2 separate regions of the Homo sapiens genome follow, and region 2 is linked to region 1. The links are contacts of gene promoters, found by promoter capture Hi-C in blood cells and fetal thymus (Javierre and others, 2016). All regions are on one chromosome and are shown on one strand. Each heading gives the region's core, a stretch centred on a gene start or on the middle of the fragment in contact. The rest is flanking DNA. Distances are from core to core; before and after follow the strand shown.

Region 1 (7,591 bases), core at 2,490-4,989:
GCGGGGTCTCAGAGGCAGGGCGGGGTCTCGGAGGCGGGGGGCGGGGCCTCAGAGGCGGGGGTCTCAGAGAAAGGGGTCTCGGAGGTGGAGGCGGGGTCTCGGAGGCGGGGCGGGCATCTCAAAGGCGGGGTTGGGGGGTGTCTCAGAGGCGAGGCGGGGTCCCAGAGGCGAGGGTTGCCTGAACTTCGGGGCGTCACACTTGCTGCGGGTAGATCCCGGGGTTCAGCCGACACATGCACATCAGCCAGAAGACGCACACGGTCATGGACACCCAGATCCAGAAGTCCTCGTAGGGCTCGGCGTGCGGCCTACGGCAGGCACGGCCAGGGCGCTCGTCTTCCTCCCGGCGGCACCCACAGCGGGCCTTGTGGAACCTGGACCTCAGCTGCCTCTTCTGGTAATAGCCTTGGGAGAAGCAGCCATTGCCCTGGGGGCCGTAGGCAACGTGGCCACCGCCCTTGCGCTTTATGACATCGAAGACTGCGAAGGGGATGGTGATGCAGCCCTCACTAACCGTGATGGGGCCCTCGGCATTGGCCTCCAGAGGGGCGTCGTGACCCGCGGTGACCAGGCCACCTTCCTTCTCTTTGCCTTCAGTGATGTCAGTAAAGGCATCTTTGCCTTGGACATCAGCAGGGAAGGGGAGGGCAAGGGAGCCCTTGACCTGGGAGGGGAGGCCACCAGCATTGGTCTCTGGCAGGGCGTCGTGACCCACTGGGACGAGGCCCTGGCCGCCTCCTTCCTTCCCGTTGCCTTCAGCCACCTCAGCAACGGCATCCTTGACATCAGTAAAGATGAAGGGGAAGGTGATGGAGGCCTCTTTAGTGGCCACAGGGCCATCGGTGGGCTCCGAGAGGGTGTTGGTGAAGATGCTGGTGAGGGAGGAGGGGAAGGTGAGGGAGCCCTCCCCGCTGGCCGAGAGGCCCACACAGTAGAACACGGTTGGCGTGTGTTTCCCCACAGGGACGAGGCCATTGTTGAGGGAGATGGGGCCCCAGCCCTGGGCCACGCCAACCGGGCTGCAGAGGGAGCCCCGGCCTTTGAAGAGGAAGCCCTTGAGCTCGAAGGTCTGGATGCTGCTGCCGAGGAGGCCGGGGCCGTGGAAGAGGGGGTCTCCAATGGCCACCGGGAAGCCTTTGCCCCCAGGCATGGCCACTGAATCCCCAGACAGGAAGATGGAGCCCTGGCCGATGACCAGGGCCTCACAGCTGCCAGTCACAGGGAGAGAGGCCCCCGCAGGGGGGGCAGGGCCCTCAGCGATGGGCACCTGGTCATTGCTGGTACCCACAAGGGAGAAGGGGATGGCGATGACAACGCCACCCTTGCCAAGGTCGTCGCCAGGGGTGGACAGCGGTTTGCCCCTGGAGACGGTGCCAGTGCCACCCCAGGCCGTGGCGGGGAAGTTGCCTTTTGTGGCGTTGGCGCTCCAGGCGGGGTCTGGGGCCTTCTGGAGGAAGCAGACCCCCAGCTCACAGGCCTCACAGCAGCCCTCATAGGCCTCCCTGGGGTGCCGGGCTGGGCCGGGGCCATCCCCGTAGCAGTCCTGCAGGATGTGCAAGACCAGCCTGCTGAGGAAGGGCTGCTCGCCCGGGGGCCTCACCTGGCAGTCCCCGGGTGCGGGGCACAGCCTGCACCGCTGGCCCCAGATGCGCATCTTCACCAGCCCCCGGTGGCTGGCCCTGTCCCACCACAGGTGGAAGAGGACGTGCACATGGGCCGAGTCCCAGGTCCCCGGACAGTGACCGCACTGGAGCCTGCGGCGGGGAAAGAAGTGTGTGTGAGTGCAGGAGAAAGAGGCCCCACGCCCAGCCCTCGCACTCTGCTCTGCGGCCTCCTTGCCCATCCGACCCCAGCGCCTCGCTGCCCCCTGCCTCACATCCCACACTCAAACCTCAAACCTCACCCCCCAGCCACCCAGGGCCGCGGCCAAGGCAGCCTAGCACCTGCTCCTGCCTGTGCCGAGGCTCTGAAACCACCAGCCCCTCGGCCACACACAGGCAAAAGCAGGCCCATGCGCACTAGCCCGCAGCCCCCTCATGTGGAGCACTGAGAAGCAAAGCAAACCTCCTCTCAGCAGTTTTTCAACAAAACCCGCTCCAGCCTGGCCTCCGTGAGGCGTCGGCAGCCTGCCACCTGCGTGGCTCTGCTGGTGTTTTGTGAGTTGGGGTTAACACAGGAAGAGGCAGGCCTGCCGACACACTTAGGAGGGGAAAAGCATGCATGTGGGGGCTGTCCCTGGGGGCTCAGCAAGTGGGGGTCCCTGTCCTGACTGAGAGGAGGCGATCCAGGAGGTCGCCTGCCAGCTGAGGGGAAGGATGTCACGGAGGCCTGCGGTCATGGCCCGGGCAGCCCTGCTGGGCGTCACCAGGCGAGGAGAGGTTTGGGGAGAGCACTGGGAGGGATTGGCTTGTCCATGGCGGTCATCAGACCGGTGACCATTTGCTAGCCACACAAGCAGCTGTGAGCTTCAGGGAACCCTGCATGAGTGAGAGGCTATGATTCAGTTCCAGGCAGTGGAAGTTTCTGGATGACAGAATGTTCTATAGCCACACTGCCCTGCCTGCAGCCTCCAACCACACTGGCCACAGAGCCCGTGGACACGTTCGTGCTGGAGGAACTGAACTGCTGACTTTATTTAAATGGGACTGAGGAGCCAAAGCCACGGGCGCTGGGGCTGCATGTTGGGGCAGCCGTCCTCAGTTCTCTCCCGCCAGCTGGGAGCCGCTCAGAGCCATCTCCACCTGGCTGTGGGAACAGTGATGTGCTTCCCAGCACTTCTCAGACCCCAACACGGGTTATTACTTTCCCAGCTTCTGAAAAAGCTGGGATTCTGCACACACCTGGCCCCAGGGGTCTCAGGCACTGAGGAGCTGTGTCAAAGGGCAGGACGACTCCCCCTTTGCCCAGGGTGTCTCCACAGAGGGACGGACCAGCCAGCAGCCTGGGGGCCTGTCAGGCCGGGCATCTGCGAGGATGTGGAGCTGCCCCGCGCCCCTCCCAGCTGGCACCCGGCCGAGCTGTGGATGCCTTGCCAGTTGGAGAAGCGCATGGCGCCCGCCCTGCTGCGCTGACGGCACCACAACCGTGATGACGGCCTGTGAGGCTCACTTGTGACCCACAGCCACCCCGGGCCCCCGATCAGGGCCGAGCACCCCGCTGTGTGCAACACAGGGCCGGATGGTGACCACAGGCTCCGGCACGCCCCAGGGCCCACCTGTCAGCACTGATGGCTGCGAGACCACGGCAGTGCCATGGAAGCAGGAGATGAGCCTGTGTCCAAGGGCAGCGCTGGCCCAAGGAGCCGAGTGAGGGAAACCAAACTCTCCATGAGGCACCCGCCATGTCTTCCCCGGGACCCCTGCGTCAGCAGCCGTGTGCCCAGCATGGCGAGGCAGGGGCTCCGGCGGGAGAAGGAGCACCCAGCCCCACCCTCCCGTCTCGGGGACAAGACGAGGCCCAACAGCCCCACCCAGCCTCTGGGACCACCCAAGGTCCCGTGGAAAAGCACCTTCAGCCCCCTGCCTCTCCCAGGGTCCCCAACCTCTGGCCGCACCTCGAGAGCCCCACCAGCAGGTACTGGACACCACCGCCGTCCAGGCATCCCGGGACCAGGCTGTGCTCAGGTAGCAGAACCCAGACGTCCTGGGGCTTCCTCTCGGCCATGGCCAGGGTGAAGGTGCTGGCCCACATGTCTGCCCCAGCCCGGTCCATGCTGCCGCCTGGCTCCGCAGTGTGGGCTGAGGGCTGCGCCCGCCGGGGGCCCAAGGAAACGTCCCCGCATCCCGCGCCGGCCAATCAGCCACCTTGACAACAGCATGGTCTCCATGGCAACCAGATTTGTCTCCGAGAAATGGGAAGCAGAAAGGAAAAATACAATACAATGCAATCTCCCATGACCCCGCCCCCCAGAGAGCATCCCTGTGGCAGCACCGTGGTGGTGGTGGTGGGCGTGGGCCCGTGGACACGCAGGGGCCTCCCCAGACCCGTGCGTGTAGAGGCCCGGGTGTTTTCACACATCGCACCAAGGAATCATCCACAGCCCTCTCTTTCTAGTGCACATCAGGAGCGGTGGCCCACACTCATCCCTTGCTGAACACTTGGTATTTTTCCAGCTTGTGGCTATCATGTAACTTATTCACTCAGCTTCTCTCTGCAAACAGCACTAATGCTTTTCACACAAACAAAGCTGAGAAGAACTTTATAGAACGTGTATCATTGCAGATTGTCCCGTGGGTGTATTCTCTTAAACTTTTTACTAGTGAGAAATATAAAATATTTACATAAAATGCCTAAAACATAAATGCAGAGCTTCACAAATTATTCTAAAGTCTTAAGTCACCACGTCCTATAGGAAGAAACAAAACCTCGCTCTGCCAGCCTCCAGAGCTGGCTGCCTGTTCCCTCCCGATCTCAGCCCGCGGCCCCACCCCCACCCCCTGCCCTCCTGGCAGAGGTGCCACCAGCCTGGCCGTGCCTGCACAGACAACGTTGAGGCTTCAACACCTATGATGCCTCCCTCACCGAGCCCTTTAGCTGTGCAGCTTCTGAGCTTTACATAAACAATTCATGCATGTGCCCAGCTTCTCACGCCTTTTCAGGTTGTTTAATTTCTGAGATTCAACAGCATTGCTGTGCGTGGCAGCCACCTGTCATGGCACAACAAGAAAGGGTGAGCTGAGAAGGAGCCGGGACGTGCAGGGGCGGAGACAGCCAGCTGATCCCTGCAAAACCTCAGCACAGATCTGCCCCCGGGAGGCTCCCGGCCACCCGGCTCTCCTCACAGCTCCCATCTCGCCATCTCTCTGCCCTGCACACTGAACAATCTCTTCTCATTTTTCTACCACTTCACACATTATCTCCTCGTCTCTGTCGACTCTGCAGCTAATGCTGGCAAGCGCCTTGTCATAGTTTTCATTTCTGAACCTTCTTTTCGGCCCTTTCAAACCTGTGACATCTTCCCGCCTTGCAGCTAGGTGTGACTGCAAGATAGAAGAGGAAGCCAGTGGGACGCACTCTGGGAAGGGGCCTCCATACAGGGCCAGACTGCCAGGGAAAGCCCCGCGTTTCTCATCCCAGCTTCATTTTCTTCTATCCATCAGTGCTGGGATGATGGCCGCACTCCAGCCTGTCTTAGACCTGCCTCAAGCACAGAGCTGTGAGCCCAAGGAGCAGGAAGGCGGGAGCCCGGGGCTGTGGTGACAGATGGAGTCGTCACACCACTGGAGGGTCGCCCACCTCTGGGTTTCCTGTTCACACGAGAAGTAAGCCAGCTGCCACTGTGGTCTCGAGGCACTGTTCTCTGGCACTGTGGATGATCACACAGCTAGCCGGAGCAATCCTAACTCACTCGCCGGGCTGTATCTAAGGTCCTGGGGTTTGCTGGTTGGCTCCGGGCCACTGTGCGTGTGTGGGCCCCTTGTGGTCCTGGTCGTGTGCCCCCGCAGGGGTCTAAGAGACACCTACTGTCCACTTGCCTCCAAAAGCCTCGGTCCACAGGGGTCCCTGCAGAGGACCTCCTCCCACCACAGCCCCCCAGAGCCAGTGTTTCCTGGCTGCTTCCGTGCCACGCTGGGGCCACAGCCCTGCCTGCCAGTCCCACCTCTCAGGCTCCTCAGCCCTGGAGGCCACACCTGGCTCTGAGTTTAGGGAAAAGCTTTGGAATGATGACTGACCACAGTCACCCAAAATAACCTTTTGGATGGCAATTCCGGCCCTTATGAAATGCAGGGAGCTGGTTGCCCGGGCATTATTCGCTCAAGAATTGTTGAGTTTTCCTTAGACCCATCCCAGAACACCTCCAGAGGCCTGGGCGGCAGACAGCAGAGAGGGCATCCTGTCCACGCCTCTGTCTGACTGCCCATTTGTCTGTCTCCCAAACCCACAAGCCACGCCCTGCAAGAGCTGCTTACGTGGCCCCCTCACAAATCAGCCAGCCATGAGCACCCCCTCTTCTTCGGCGGGGATGGATGAGGCAGGTTGTGCACAGCACCCACGGGTCCCTGCAACATGTGGCAGGGTCCTCCTTGGGCCTTCTGCATCAGCGCCCACCTGGAGCCGGCCACTGGAGCCTCTCTCCAGGCATGTGTGGTCCCTCCAAGGACAGGCCCTAGGACCCAGGCCTGGGGCAGACGCCTTCTGACCCCGCTCCCTGCCCAGCCTCCCCGAAGGCTGGCTCCAGGACAGGGTGAGATGGGGGTGGGAGATTGGGCCACAGGGAAAAGAAACGATCAGGGGAAGCCGGGTGCCCCTTCAGCACTGCTGCCCACCTGGTGTGGTGGCTTAGCGCTCCCTCTCCCCGCAGACACGCGCTCCTTCTGGGGCCCCTTCCTCACACGCTGGTACCCGTCTTCCTGAGCTCAGCTTCTGGGGAGGGCAGCTGGCAGGCCGGGGACAGCCCTCCCTTGGGAAGCAGAACTTGCAGCTCAGGTGAGTCCCACCACAGTCTCCTGCCAGAACGGATGCACTGCCTGGGCCTGGAGGAGCAGAGGCAGCAGCTCCCGGCGAGGGAGGAGCAAACGCCAAGGCCCGGTGGGGCCAGAGGACCGGTCGGCTGACGGGATGGTGGTCCTTGCTCAGAGGGAGAAAGAGACGGGCAGGAAAAGGAGCCGAGCAGAGAACGGTGGCCGTTCGCAGGTGCTGGGGCTCACCCTCCCCCCACAGACCTCAGCTGGGGCTCACCCTCCCAACACAGACCTCAGCTCGTGGCTGCAGCGGCAGGGACAAGGCCGCCTCCCAGACCCCAGGCCCTGCAGTCCCACAGGCCCCACCGGCAAGGGGTTGTTCCTGGCCCAAGGCTCCGTGTGGCTCTGCCCCAGCGCTGCCCAGGCGGGCAGGGATCCCAGGACCGGCAGCTGGTGGGGGGACGCAGCCTCTGTCCAGCCATTCTGTTGCTGAAAGCGCTTCCACTGTCCAAGAGGCCCCTTGCTCTCCCCTCCAACCCGCAGTCCTGCTGGGGCTGGGGAGGCCATTCCGAAGGAGGAATGCAAGGGACCTCCTGCACTCGCCCTCGGAGCATCCCTCCCTGGGGGACCGCTCACTCACGCTGCTCATCCCCCGCAGCTCAGCATCCCCCGCAGCTCAGCATCCCCCGCAGCTCAGCATCCCCCGCAGCTCAGCATCCCCCGCAGCTCAGCATCCCCCGCAGCTCAGCATCCCCCCGCAGCTCAGCATCCCGCGCAGCTCAGCATCCCGCGCAGCTCAGCCCGGGTTCTTCGGCTTTGGAGCCCAGCAGGGGGACCAGCAGGGGGACCAGCAAGGGGCCTGAGTGACACCCACTGCCCTGGAGTGAGAAGGCAGGGGCGCCACACACACACAGGACACCACACACCACACACCACACACACCACACACACTACACATACCACACACACACTACACACACCACACACACCACACAAACACCACACATGCCACACACGCCACACACACCACACACTACAAGCCACACACACCACACACTACACACACTACACATACCACACACACTACACACACCATACACTACACACACCAGACACACTACACACACCACACCACACACACCAAACACACACATCACACAAACCATACACAACACGCACTACACACACAC
Region 2 (7,591 bases), core at 1,573-4,072, 1.0 Mb after region 1:
AGTGACACCTAGCGGCCGACTGTGGCCCCACCACAGGGCACACAGGATTCTTGTTCTTCCTGATGGTGCAAGTGACAGCTGGCATGTCCATGTGGGGCAGGAGGACCTGCAGAAAGGCCCAAAGAGGACCTGTGCCTCCCGCGCCGTCCCTGCCTGGAGCAAGCTCGGCCCGCGGTATGTAGGCACAGACTCCGCAGCCCGCCTGGGCCTGCAGCCTCAGGGAAGCGGCTGGACACCGACCTGCCTTGGGAATCCTGACGGGTGTGCTTGGCCTGGGTGACGTGACAGTGGCCACCTGCAGCACAGTCCATGGGGCTGAGGATGGTGAGAGACAGTGACAGGTGACCTGGCTCTCGGGGAGGGACCCAGCCAGCGGGCCAGGGCTGGTGGAGGCTTCCTGATTTGAAGGAAACTCAGGGGACAGCGAGGGGAAGGGTACCGAGTCACGGAGGGACCCCACGGGTCCCTGGCCTTCGAGGCTTCTGGGGTGGGAGCAGCCTGCACATGGGGTGGATGCAGTGGGGGACGGCAGCAATGGGGGACGGCAGCAGGGGGCCCAGAGTTCAGGCGTGACCAGAGGATGGTCAGGAGGCAGTCGGTCAGGTTTAAGCAGGGAGGGACTTGTTTGTGGATTTGTTTTTCCACTTGAATGACTCAGAGGGTACCCAGGTGGCTCTGACGGGGGTTCCAGTGGAAATGTCTGTGGGGTTCATGTGCCTCTTGCCTTCTGTAGCCCAGCCATCCTGTCTTCATCTCCCCGTCCAGCCTTGGTGCTCCCAGTGCCCTCTGACCCCCATCTGCCACCATTCGTCATCAACAAGCAGTGGGTGGGGCTTTCTCACGCAGGGCTCTGGCCCCTAGACCAGCCTGACTACCCTCCCTGGCTGGGCCTGCCCTGGGCAGCGCCCACCGCCCTTCACTGCCCTGGCTGGGCCTGCCCTGGGCAGCGCCCACCGCCCTTCACTGCCCTGGCTGGGCCTGCCCTGGGCAGCGCCCACCGCCCTTCACTGCCCTGGCTGGGCCTGCCCTGGGCAGCGCCCACCGCCCTTCACTGCTCCTGCCCCTGCACTGTCTCTTCCCCGTGGTGAGTGAGCTGCTATGAAGGCCCCTAGATTGGTCCTTCTGGCCGTCCTTAGGGGCTTCCACAGCCCGGTTCCTGATGGCACTTGGCGTAGCCATGGGCCCTGAACTTCGGGGCTGCTTCTCGGCCTTCTCGACAAGCTCAGTGCCTGGCTCTGCCCTCAACCTGCAGTGTGTCCTTGGGCAAACCCCATCCCTGGCCCAGCCTCCACTTCTTCTCAGGACAGCTCTGTAAGGTCTGTGGGGTGAGCCCTCTTGTTCCTCCCTCAGCTTAGCCCTGGGGTAATGGGGAGAATCTTCTATGGGGAAGGAAGCCAAACCTCCTTGTGAGGGAGGAGGGAGCCTCCCACTGAAGCACACGTCACAGCTGTCCCATTTTAAAATATCTTCTAAGTAATGAGGACGTTCTCCAATGGCACAGACATGAGGACAGTGAAACTGTTGGCGCCAGCACCGGCCTCAACAGCCGGCAGCGTCCTGCTGTCCAGCTTCTTTTCTCAGGACCCCCTCCGTATTACTTGTTTAATTTTGCTGAAGATTTAAAGCAAACCCCGACAGTGTGTTCTTCCACCCAGATCTTCCAGTGCACACCTAAAAAGATGGACCTTTTTCACACAGCCTCAATGCCATTGTCACACTTAAAAAAGCCAATAACAATTCCTTTCTATCACCTGGGAGCCTGGCCATAGACATGTTTGCCCAGTCATCTAAAAGACATCTTTTTAAAGAATTGAGATGTAAACAAGTCCCAGTATCACATGCTGTGGGGCCCAGGACTCAAGCTTTAGTGTCAGCGGTGCTCCTCACCCTCTGATGTGACTTGGTTGTGTCCCCGCCCAAATCCCATCTGGAATTGTAATCCCCTTAATCCCCGTTTTATATATATAGGGAGAGACCTGGTGGGAGGTGATTGGATCATGAGGGCAGTTTCCCCATGCTGTTCTCATGATAGTGAGTGAGTTCTCACGAGATCTGATGGTTTTATAAGGGGCTCGTCCCCCTTTGTTCCTCACTCTTCTGTCTCCTGCCGCCTAGTGAAGAAGGACGAGTTTACTTCTCCTTCTGCCGTGATTGTAAGTTTCCTGAGGCCTCCCCACATGCAGAACTGTGAGTCAATTAAACCTCTTTCCTTTGTAAATTATCCAGTCTTGGGTATTCCTTAAGAGCAGGTGAGAATGACTAATACACCCTTTAAACTTCAATAGTGCTCTCAGCCTCTAATGTACAGCGGTGCTCTCCACCCTCTAACACAACAGTGCTCCCCACCCTCTAAAACACAGCAGTGCTCCCCACCCTCTAATGTACCGTAGTGCTCCGCATCCTCTAACACAGCAGTGCTCCCCACCCTCTAATGTACAGCGGTGCTCCCCACCCTCTAACACAACAGTGCTCCCCACTCTCTAACACACAGCAGTGCTCCCCACCCTCTAATGTACAGTGGTGCTCCCCACCCTCTAACGCACAGCAGTGCTCCTCACCCTCTAACACACAGCAGTGCTCTCCACCCTCTAACACAACAGTGCTCCCCACCCTCTAACACACAGCAGTGCTCCCCACCCTCTAATGTACAGCGGTGCTCCCCACCCTCTAACACACAGCAGTGCTCCCCACCCTCTAATGTACAGCGGTGCTCCCCACCCTCTAACACACAGCAGTGGTCTCCACTCTCTAACACAACAGTGCTCCCCACCCTCTAACACACAGCAGTGCTCCCCACCCTCTAACGCACAGCGGTGCTCCCCACCCACTAACACACAGCGGTGCTCCCCACCCTCTAACACACATCGGTGCTCCCCACCCTCTAATGTACAGTGATGCTCCCCACCCTCTAACACAACAGTGCTCCCCACTCTCTAACACACAGCAGTGCTCCCCACCCTCTAATGCACAGCAGTGCTCCTCACCCTCTAACACACAGCAGTGCTCTCCACTCTCTAACACAACAGTGCTCTTCACCCTCTAATGCACAGCAGTGCTCCCCACCCTCTAACGCACAGTGGTGCTCCCCACCCACTAACACACAGCGGTGCTCCCCACCCTCTAACGCACAGCCCTGCTCCCCACCCTCTAACGCACAGCGGTGCTCCCCACCCTCTAACGCACAGCGGTGCTCTTCACCCTCTAACGCACAGCGGTGCTCCCCACCCTCTAACGTACAGCGGTGCTCCCCACCCTCTAACGCACAGCGGTGCTCTTCACCCTCTAACGCACAGTGGTGCTCCCCACCCTCTAATGTACAGCGGTGCTCCTCACCCTCTAACGCACAATGGTGCTCCTCACCTTCTAATGTACAACGGTGCTCCTCACCCTCTAATGTACAATGGTGCTTGTCACACTCTAATGCACAACCATGCTCCTCACTCTCTAATGCCTAATGGTGCACCTCACCCTCTAAAGTACAGTGGTGCTCCTCTCCCTCTAATGCCCAACGGTGTTCCTTACCTCGAATGTACAACTGTAGTCCTTCTTCACATGGTGGCAGGAGAGAGAAGTGCAGAGTGAAGGGGGAAGAGCCTCTTATAAAACCATAGGATCTCATGATAACTCACTCACTATCATGAGAACAGGATAGGGGAAACTGTCCCCATGATTCAGTTACCTCCCACTGGGTTCTTCCCATGACATCTGGGAATTATGGGAACTACAATTCAAGATGAGATTTGGGTGGGGACACAGCCAAACCATATCACCTGTTAAGCTTCCCAAACCTTATCTATACAAATAGCCCCCAGAACTTCGGAGCACCAACTCCCACTCTTTGGAGTCTGTGCTCCCAGGTGGCTGTCCTTATGCTCTGTGCTCAAGTTAACTGTCCATTTCATCCTGTTTTCTGAATCTCTTTATTTAGGGTTGACAGGGAAGGGATTGGCCATGGTGCCTGGCACACGGGCAGCTCCTGGCAGGAGGCCAGCTGTGCCACAGGTCCGGCCAGTGCTCTCTGCAGGGCTGTGTGGCTGCCCTGCCCTGGCTGCCTGGCCAGCCCACTCTCTCAGATTCTCTCACCAGGGTCCAGACTCCCTGTCCCAGGAGTTTCTGGGCAGCGGAGAGGGAGAGAAGGAGGCAGGCCTGGAGGCTCACCTTCCCCCAGGATCTGAGCTTCCACCAGAAAGGAAACCAAAATATATCCCCCACAAATAAACTTCTTTGACATATTTTGAGATGGCTGTTCAGAGGGCCTGAAAACAGAAGCAGCCCTGCAAAGCTTTCTTTTGTGGGGAAATTTGCATCTGTATAGAAAACCTGCATTGATGCAGCCAGGCTTTTGCTGAGGCCCTCATTTTTCTGTATTTAGGAAAGATAAGCTGAGAGTCTGTATTAGCCTGTTCTCACGCTATCATAAAGAACTGCCTGAGACTGGGTAATTTTTTAAAGGAAGGAGGTTTAATTGACTCACAGTTATGCAGGGCTGGGGAGGCCTCAGGAAACTTACAATCATGGCAGAAGGGGAAGCAAAGACATCCTTCTTCACATGGAGGCAGGAAGGAGAAAGAGTGCCAAGCAAATGAGGAAGCCCCTTATAAAACCATCACATCCCATGAAAACTCACTCACTATCATGAGAAAAGCATGGCAGAAATTGCCCCCATGATTCAGTTACCTCCACCTGGTTCTGCCCTTGACACATGGGGATTATTACAATTCAAGGTGAGATTTGGGTGGGGACACAGAGCCAAACCATATCATTCCACCCCGGCCCCTCCCAAATCTCGTATCCTTACATTTCAAACACAATCATGCCCTCCCAATAGTCCCCCAAAGTCTTAGCTCATTTCAGCATTAACACAAAAGTCCAAGTCCAAAGTCTCATGTGAGACAAGGCAATTCCCTTCTGTCTATGAGCTTGTAAAATCAAAAGCTTGTTAGTTACTTCCTAGATACAATGAGGGTACAGGAATTGGGTAAATACACCCATTCCAAAAGGGAGAAATTGACCAAAACAAAGGGGCTACAGGCCCCATGCAAGTCTGAAATCCAACAGGGCAGTCATTAAACCTTAAAGTTCCAGAATGATCTCCTTTGACTCCATGTTTCACATCCAGGTCATGCTTATGCAAGAGGTGGTCTCCCATGGCCTTGGGCAACTCTGCCCCTGTGGCTTTGCAGGGTACAACACCTCCCCTCCCCCCACCTGGCTGCTCTCATGGGCTGGCTATGGAGTGTCTGCAGCTTTTCCAGATGTACAGCGCAAGGTGTCGGTGGATCTACCATTCTGGAGTTTGGAAGATGGTGGCCTTATTCTCACAGCTCCACTAGGCAGTGCCCCAGTGGGGACTCTGTGTGGGGGCTCTGACCCCACAGTCCCTTCTGTACTGCCCTAGTAGAGGTTCTCCATGAGGGCTCTGCCCTACAGCAAACTTCTGTCTGGACATTCTGGAAATTCCATACATCCTCTGAAATCTAGGGATTGGGAGCTCCCCAAACCTCAATTCTTGACTTCTGGGCACCCACAAGCCCATTAGCACATGGAAGCTGCCAAGGTTTAGGGCTTGCACCCTCTGAAGCAATGGCCTGAGCTGTATGTTGGCTCCTTTTAGCCATGGCTGGAGTGGCTGGGACGAAGGGCACTAAGTTCCAAGGCTGCACACAGCAGGGGGGCCCTGGACCCAACTCAGGAAACCCTTTTTCCCTCCTAGGCCTCTGGGCCCTTGATGGAAGGGGCTGCTGTGAAGGTCTCTGACATGCTCTGGAGACATTTTCCTCATTGTCTTGGTGATTAACACTCAGCTCTTCATTACTTATGCAAATTTCTGAAGCTGGCTTGAATTTCTCCCCAGAAAATGGGTTTTCTTTTCCATTGCATCATCAGGCTGCAAATTTTTCAAACTTTTATGCTCTGCTTCCTCTTGAACAGTTTGCCACTTAGAAATTTCTTCCACCAGATACACTAAATCATCTCTCTCAAGTTCAGCTTTCCATAGATCTCTAGGGCAGGGTCAAAATGCCCCCAGTCTCTTTGCACAGCAAGAGTAACCTCTATTCCCATTCCCAACAAGTTCCCCATCTCCATCTGAGATCACCTCAGCCTGGACTTCGTTGTCCATATCACTATTGGCATTTTGGTCAAAGCCATTCAATAATTCTCCAGGAAGTTCCAAACTTTCCCACATCTTTCTGTCTTCTGAACCCTCCAAGTCTCTAGGAAGTTCCAAACTTTCCCATATTTTCCTGTCTTCTTCTGAGCCCTCCAAACTGTTCCAAACTCTGCCTGTTACCCAGTTCCAAAGTTGTTTCCACATTTTTGGGTATCTTTACAGAAGCACCCCACTCTCTGTGGTAAGAGTTTACGATATTACTCCCTTCCCATGCTGCATTAAAGAACTGCCTGAGACTGGGTAATTTACAAAGGAAGGAGGTTTAATTGATTTACAGTTCCACAGGGCTGGGGAGGCCTCAGGAAATTTACAATCATGGTGGAAGGGGAAGCAAACATGTCCTTCTTCACATGATGGCAGGAAGGAGAAGGAATGCCAAGTGAAGCCCCTTATAAAATCATCAGATCTTGTGAGAACCCACTCACTATCAGGAGAACAGCATTGCAGAAACCACTCCTGTGATTCAATTATCTGCACTTGGTTCCACCCTTGACATGTGGTGGTTATTAAAATTCAAGGTAAGATTTGAGTGGGGACACAGAGCCAAACCATATCAGTCTGTCACCCTTAAAGGCTAAAAGCAGCATTTACCATTTGCTAGCTGTGAGGTCCCCTAACCTGGTGAGCCTGGCCTCCTCTTCTCCCCCTCCCAAAACCTGCCATGCCACTGGGATCTGTTTTTGGCCGTGCTTGAGCCTCCATTCTTTCTGTAACCTGTTCAAAGAAAAACCAAACTCCATAAAATATTTAAAGAGGTTTCTTCTGAGCCAATATGAGTGACCATGGCCCGGGGAACAGTCTCAAGAGTTCCTGAGAAAGTGTGCCCAGGGAGTCGGGTCACCGCTCGGTTTTATACATTTTAGGGAGACAGACGTTACAGGCAAAGACATAAATCAATACATGGAAGGTGTAAATTGCCTAAAGAGATGGGACATCTCCAAGTTGGGGTGCTTACAGGTCACAGATGGATTCAAAGATTTTCTGATTGACAATTGGTTGAAAGAGCTAGACTTTGTTTAAAGACTTGAAGTCAGTAGAAAGAAAGGCTTGGGTTAAGATAAGGGGGTTGTGGAGAGCACGGTTCTTGTTATGCAGTTGAAGCCTCCCAGGTCGCAGTCTTCAGAGAGAATAGAAGGTGAATGTCTGTTTTCAGACTTTGAAAGTGTCAGACCCTCATTTAATCTCCCTTAGATCCGGGAAAGGACTAGAAAGGAAGGCCTGGCTGCATTAATGGAGATTCTCTACAGATGCAAATTTCCCCCACAAAAGATGGCTTTGCAGGGCCATCTCAAAATATGTCAAAGAAATATAGTTTGGAGTAAAATACTTTTATTTCCTTCAGGGTCTGCCATCTGTCGTGTGAGGTTACACCAGAGTCAAGCTGGAATTTGGTGTCTTATTGCCACAAGGAGTCTGCTC

The links. The method cuts DNA at HindIII sites, captures the fragments that hold promoters and counts their contacts. A CHiCAGO score of 5 or more calls a contact.
Region 2: a contact is called between a fragment that was not itself captured here and the fragment with the promoter of RTP5 in region 1, in 1 of 17 cell types (naive CD8 T cells). The highest score is 6.5, in naive CD8 T cells.

The regions. Positions count from the first base shown.
Region 1 is chr2:241,865,877-241,873,467 of GRCh38, reverse strand. It overlaps RTP5 (receptor transporter protein 5 (putative)), which reads right to left and starts at 3,739. Exons shown (of 2, transcript NM_173821.3): 1 at 3,554-3,739; 2 at 1-1,754. The coding sequence starts at 3,711. The coding sequence ends at 194. RefSeq lists enhancers at 1,099-1,655, 6,898-7,591. The HindIII fragment of the contact is 6,184 bases long and covers 1-5,655 here.
Region 2 is chr2:240,843,809-240,851,399 of GRCh38, reverse strand. No RefSeq gene overlaps it. Among named protein-coding and RNA genes, the nearest start is that of AGXT, 21 kb to the left of the region's middle. The HindIII fragment of the contact is 1,916 bases long and covers 1,865-3,780 here.